Regions from separate parts of the Homo sapiens genome. Here region 1 is linked to region 2. Evidence: promoter capture Hi-C in 16 types of primary human blood cells and fetal thymus (Javierre and others, 2016). All regions are on one chromosome and are shown on one strand. Each heading gives the region's core, a stretch centred on a gene start or on the middle of the fragment in contact. The rest is flanking DNA. Distances are from core to core; before and after follow the strand shown.

What was found. The method cuts DNA at HindIII sites, captures the fragments that hold promoters and counts their contacts. A CHiCAGO score of 5 or more calls a contact.
Region 1: a fragment that was not itself captured here is called in contact with the fragment with the promoter of CEP20 in region 2 in 4 of 17 cell types (naive B cells, total B cells, M0 macrophages and 1 more); the score reaches 9.5 in naive B cells.

What each region holds. Positions count from the first base shown.
Region 1 is chr16:14,955,042-14,958,174 of GRCh38, forward strand. No RefSeq gene overlaps it. Among named protein-coding and RNA genes, the nearest start is that of PDXDC1, 18 kb to the right of the region's middle. The HindIII fragment of the contact is 1,491 bases long and covers 851-2,341 here.
Region 2 is chr16:15,886,996-15,890,035 of GRCh38, forward strand. It overlaps CEP20 (centrosomal protein 20), which reads right to left and starts at 1,608. Exons shown (of 5, transcript NM_144600.4): 1 at 1,563-1,608. The coding sequence starts at 1,590. The HindIII fragment of the contact is 7,894 bases long and covers 1-3,040 here.

The DNA.
Region 1 (3,133 bases), core at 346-2,845, 930 kb before region 2:
CAGCTTCCAGGCACTGTCCCAAAAGTGGGGTGTCAGTGGGAACCCAAGCAACAGACAATATAGAGTCTCGCACCTCATAGAACTCATTTTCTCCTTGCTTCTTTTTCTCACCTTTTTTTTTTTTTTTTTTTTTTTTGAGATAGGGTCTTACCCTGTTTCCCAGGCTGGAGTGCAGTGGCACAATCATAGCTCACTGCAACCTCAAATGCCTGGGCTCAACGTAGCTTCCTGCCTCAGCCTCCTGAGTAGCTGGGACTACAGGCACCCGCCACCATGTCCGGCTAATTTTTCTTTCTTTCTTTTTTTTTTTTGTATTTTTAGTAGAGATGGGGTTTCATCATGTTAGCCAAGATGGTCTCGATCTCCTGACCTTGTGATCCACACACCTTGGCCTCCCAAAGTGCTGGGATTACAGGCATGATCCACCGCACCTGGCCCTGATTTTAACTTCTCTTTTTTCTTTTTTTTTTTTTTTTTTTTTGAGACAGACTCCTGTTGCCCAGGCTCTGGAGTACAGTGGTGCGATCTTGGCTCACTGCAACTTCTCCCTCCCAAGTTCAAGCGATTCTCCTGGCTCAGCCTCTCCAGTAGCTGGGAATAAAGGCATGCGCTACCATGCCTGGATCATTTTGGTATTTTTAGTACAGACGGGGTTTCGCCATGTGGGCCAGGCTCGTCTCCAACTCTTGTCCTCAGGTGATCCGCCGGCCTCGGCCTCCCAAAGTGCTGGGATTATAGCCATGAGCCACCGTGCCTGGCCTTGATTTTTAGCTTTTAACTTTGAAATAACTACAGACTTTGAAAGAAGTTGCAAAAATAGTACAAAGAGTTACCACATACTCTTCATCCAAGCTTCCTGAAATATTGATATCTTACATGACCATAGTACAATGATCAAAACAAGGAAATAAGCACGGAAATCATACACGTACCTAATCTACAGATCTTATTCAAATGATCACCGATCGTCACCCTAAGGTTCTTTGTTCCCAGTCTGGCCTCCAATCCCAGATTGCTTCACATTGTGTTGAACTGTCAAATGGCCTTAGTCTCCAAGTGAGATCACTAACCGGCTATTCTGTAGGCTGTCCCTCAGTTTATCAACCCAGTTGTTATGGGCTAAATGATGCCCTCCAAAATTCATATATTGGAGCCCTAATTTCCAGTACCTCAGAAGGCGACTGTGTTTGAAGATAAGGCCTTTAAAATGGCAATTAAGTTAAAGTGAGACCTTTAGGATGGGCTCTAATCCAATCTGTCTGGTGTCCTTATAAGAAGAGGAAATTTGGGGGCATGGTTGGTGGCTCACACCTGTAATCCCAGCACTTTAGGAGGCTAAAGTAGGAGGATCACTTGAGGTACGAAGATCACTTGAGACCAGCCTGGCCAACATGGTGAAACCCCATCTCTACTAAAAATTAGCTGGGTGTGGTGGCACATGTCTGTAATCCCAACTACTTGGGAGGCTGAGGCAGGAGAATCGCTTGAACCTGGGAGAGGGAGGTTGCAGTGAGAGGAGATCGAGCCACTGCACTACAGCCTGGGTGACAGAGCAAGATTCCGTCTTTAAAAATAAAATAAAATAAAAAAAAAATTTGGACACACAAACAGGCACCAGGGGCCGGGCATGGTGGCTCATGCCTGTAATCCCAGCCCTTTAGGAGGCCAAGGCAGGAGGATTGCCTGAGCTCAGGAGTTCAAAACCAGCCTGGGCAACGTAGTGAGACCCTGTCACTCTCTCTCTCTTTTTTTTTATTTAAAAAATAAATAAATAAAACGAGGCACCAGGGATGTTTTCACACCAAGGAAAGACCATGTGAAGACACAGCAAGAAGGCAGCCGTGTGAAACTAACCCAGCAGGCACCCTGGTCTTGGACTTCTTGCCTCCAGAAGGGTGAGCAAATAAGTTTCTATTGTCTAAGCCACGCTGTGTGCGCTATTTTGTTATGGCAGCCCCAGCAAACTAATATATCCATTCTCTTCAGTTCTTGGAAATCTGCCCATTTCTATGTTCTCTGACCCTTTTTATCTGCCCGTTTATTGATTTATAGCCTTCTCCGGCTCCTTATCCTTGTTACTGGTCCGGAGTAAACTTCTGTTAGATTTCTCCCAGCTGGGCAGGCTTCCAGCTCACCAAAACATCTCCTTCTTTGCTTTTTACTTATATCCCCCTTGTATCATTTTTCCATGGCTGAGGTAACAAATTACCACGAATTTAATGGCTTAAAAGAACACAAACTTCTTGTCTTAGAATTTGGGGTGTCAGAGTCTAAAATGGGTCTGCAGGACTGCATTCCTCCTGGAGGTCCTAAAGGAGAGTTCATTTTCTTGCCTCTTCCAAGCTTCTAGATGCTCCCTGCACTCCTTGGCTCCCCATCCAACATCTTCAAAGTCAGCAGCATAAATCTTCCCATCTCCCTTTCTCTCTCTTTTTTTTAGACAAAGTCTTACTCTGTCACCTAGGCTGGAACGCAGTGGTACAGTCATAGCTCACTGCAGCCTCAAACCCCGAGGCTGAAGTGATCCTCCCGCCTCAGCCTCACGAGTAGCTGGGACCACAGGCATGCACCACCATGCCTGGCTGATTTTTAATTTTTTATAGAGACAGGCTCTTGCTATGTCACCAGGGCTGTCTTGAATTTGGGAGCCCGCGATCAGAAGCCAGCATGGTCGGCAGCTCCCTACACCACGTCCGGGCTTCCCGGGCCTCCAGCTGCCCCCTGCGCCGCCGCCGCCTCCCGCACCTGCACGTGGCCACTCCAGATGCTCCGGAGGGATTGAGCACCCCGCGCACACCCAGCTCACACCATCCAATCCGGAGGCCATGGGCCGACATGGGGGCTGAGCGTTTGAAATGAGCCCGGACCACCAGATGCATGGGTCCGTTCACACGAAATACCCAGAACAGGCAAAGCCACAGAGGCAGAAAGTATGGGGTTATTTATTTTAATTAATTAATTAATTGTTTTGAGACGTAGTCTCCTCTGTCGCCCAGGCTAGAGTGCCGATCCCTATGTTAGCTTGATGTGGTGGCTCATATCTGTAATCACAGCACTTTGGTAAGCTGAGGCGGGAGGATCGCTTGTCAGGCCAAGAGTTCAAGACCAGTCTGGGCAAAATAGTGAGACCCCC
Region 2 (3,040 bases), core at 358-2,857:
TCAAGCTATCTTCCTGTTTCAGCCTGTGGGGTAGCTGGAACTACCACAGGCCACTATGCCCGGCTCTTTTTTTTAATTTTTATTTTTTAAATAAAGATGGGGTCTCACCATGTTGGCCAGGCTGGTCTTAAACTTCTGGGCTCAAGCGATCCTCCCAAAGTGTTAGGATTACAGGCATGAGCCACTGTGCTTGGCCCATTCCAAGTGTACCTTTAAATCCTCTGAAAATGTATGCAATATTACATGTGATGTGTATTTCCCTGGGAACAGCATCTGTAGACTCGTGAAGTCTGTTCTTGTGGACAGATGCATGCCTGTTCTGTTTTATGATTGTTCACCAGCCCTGTCCCCAAATACACACTTTTATACACGTCTCCTCCCTAAAATATCTAAGAATTACTAGTTTAAACCCTGGGTTCCCTGCAAAGTGGAACTGGTTTTATTTTTTGGACAGCAATCTTGCTCAGTGATTAAGACCTGGCGCTCCAGTGCGTCACAACTAGGTTCCCATGCTGTGTCTCTTTCCAGTGAAATCACTTTGAGCTATTTCACTTCTCAGTACCTCGTTTCCCAGTCTATGAAATGGGCATAGGGTTGTTACAATCAGGTAACACACAGGCTGAGTTGAGTAGTGCCTGACACATGAGGCTCAATGATAACTATTATTACTATTACTTGTCTGGACATTTGCTTCAAAGTAAACAGCGTACAAATGTCATTAATGACTCAAACATAACTAGCTTAGAGTATCTTTTCCTGAAAAGACAGGAGAATGGCCAGGCCAGCAAACTTTTTGCCTCTAGTTTCTTCTGATGAAAAAGGGGCCAGGCGCTCACACCTGTAATCCCAGCACTTTGAGGGGGCCAAGGCAGGAGGATAGCTTGAGACCAGGAGTTCGACAGTAAGACCCCGTGTCTACAAAAAATACAAAAATTAGCCGGGCGTAGTGAAGAGCCCCTGTATTCCCACCTGCTCTGGAAGCTGAGGTGGGAGGATAGCTGGAGTCCCGGAGTTCGAAGCTGCAGTGAGCTGTGATCGCGCTACTGCACTCCAGCCTGGGCGACAGAGAGACCCTCTCTTTAAAAAAAAAAAAAAAAAGCAAGGAGGGGAGGGCTACTTAACAGGTTGTTGTAAGGACCCAACGAGACAACCAAGCAAATTGTTTAGGGCAGTGCCTAACCCAATAGGGGTTGTGGGAATTGTAGTCATCAGCCCTGAGTGCCAAGCCTGGTCCAAGTCCTCCAGCCCCCGGCAGGGTCCAAGAAGATGAGCCAGGGGCCCAAGATGCAGGCCTGTAGGCCTCTTAGATGCCTGAAGATTACGCAACTCCTCCTTTAGCTCCAAACTGGCTTAAAACTCGCCAGTGGGCAACCTCTTCCCCATAAGAGCTCCCCGCGCACGGGCCAAGACAGCAGCCAGACGCTCCCCGCAGGCCCTCACACCGAAGAATGACGCCTGTAAAAGCCAACCCATGTGTTCCGCGCGCTCTCCTCCCATCCCATCCTTTCCACAAGATGAAGGCCCGACGCTTCCCATGTGGAGGCCTCCCTGCTCGCACTCACCAGCCTTCAACTCTGCCACAGTCGCCATTTTTCAACGGCCGCCAGGGCCGCACCGCGGCCCTGCGCACGCGCAGCTCCGCCCCACTCACCCTGCGGCGTGGTCTGTAGCCAATAGGCGCACAGCTCTCGCCCCGCCCACTTCCGCCCCTCTCAGTTTATGAGCTCTGCGGTTGAGTGGGTAGTGAATGTCGACCAGAGACTCCACCAATCAGCGAGCGCTCTCGGAAGGCCCAGTTGAGTGAGACGGCAGGGAGGGCGGGGACTGAGGCAGTGGAGAGCCCTGTGGGGTGCTGCTGGCACCTTAGTGCTTAACTTTAGCCAGCTGAGTTTTTCATTGTCTCTGCAGCCTCAAGTACCAACTGCTAGTAGTTACCACCTATTAACCCTGCGGTTCTCAAACTTGAGCATGAATCCTCATCACCTCCAAGACTTGTTTAAACGGATTGTTTGCTAGTCCTCCCCATAGAGTTTCTGATTCTGTAAATCTGGGGTGAGGCCCTAGGATTTGCATTTCTATCGAGTTCCCAGGTGGTACTGGTACTGCTGGTCGGTCTGGAGATCACACCTCGAGAACCACTGTATTAAGCACTTACTGTGACGCCTTAGCGCATTATTTCCTTATGATCACGCCGTTTTTACAATGAAGGAAACAGAGTCCTCCATCGCTGAAGAGACTTAACCAAGGTCACCAGCCTGTCCTCTTCCACTCGCACTTACACAGTGCATGTAAGGAGTCCAGGAGCTTTTTATGGAACTAACTAATGAAGGAATAAGCTCCAACATCCCATGGAAGTAAAGGAAAAGGAACAGGGGAATAATGTACCCTAAACTGAGTGTGAGGTTGCATGATTCCAGTTGTAATGCCGGTGAGATCCAAACACTTGGCTAAATAATAAACATCGATTAGACGTACACCTAAGAGTGGCCGGGCGCGGTGGCTCACGCCTGTAATCCCAGCACTTTGGGAGGCCGAGGCGGGCGGATCCCGAGGTCAGGAGATCGAGACCATCCTGGCTAACACGGTGAAACCCTGTCTCTACTAAAAATACAAAAAATTAGCCGGGCGTGCTGGCGGGCGCCTGTACTCCCAGCTACTCGGGAGGCTGAGGCAGGAGAATGGCGTGAACCCGGGAGGTGGAGCTTGCAGTGAGCCGAGATGGCACCACTGCACTCCAGCCTGGGCGACAGAGTGAGACTCCGTCTCAAAAAAAAAAAAAAAAAAGTACACCTAAGAGCTGCCAGGGCACGGTGGTTTACGCCTGGAATCCCAGCACTTTGGGAGACTGAGGTAAGGAGTTCGAGAACAGCCTGGCCAGCCTGGTGAAACCCCCTCTGTACTAAAAAAAAAGTACAAAAATTAGCCGGGCGTGGTAGCAGGAGCCTGTAATCCCAGCTACTTGGGAGGCTGAGGCACAAGAATCGCTTGAACCTGGGAGGCAGAGGTTGCAGTGAGATGAGATCGCGCTACTGCACTCCAA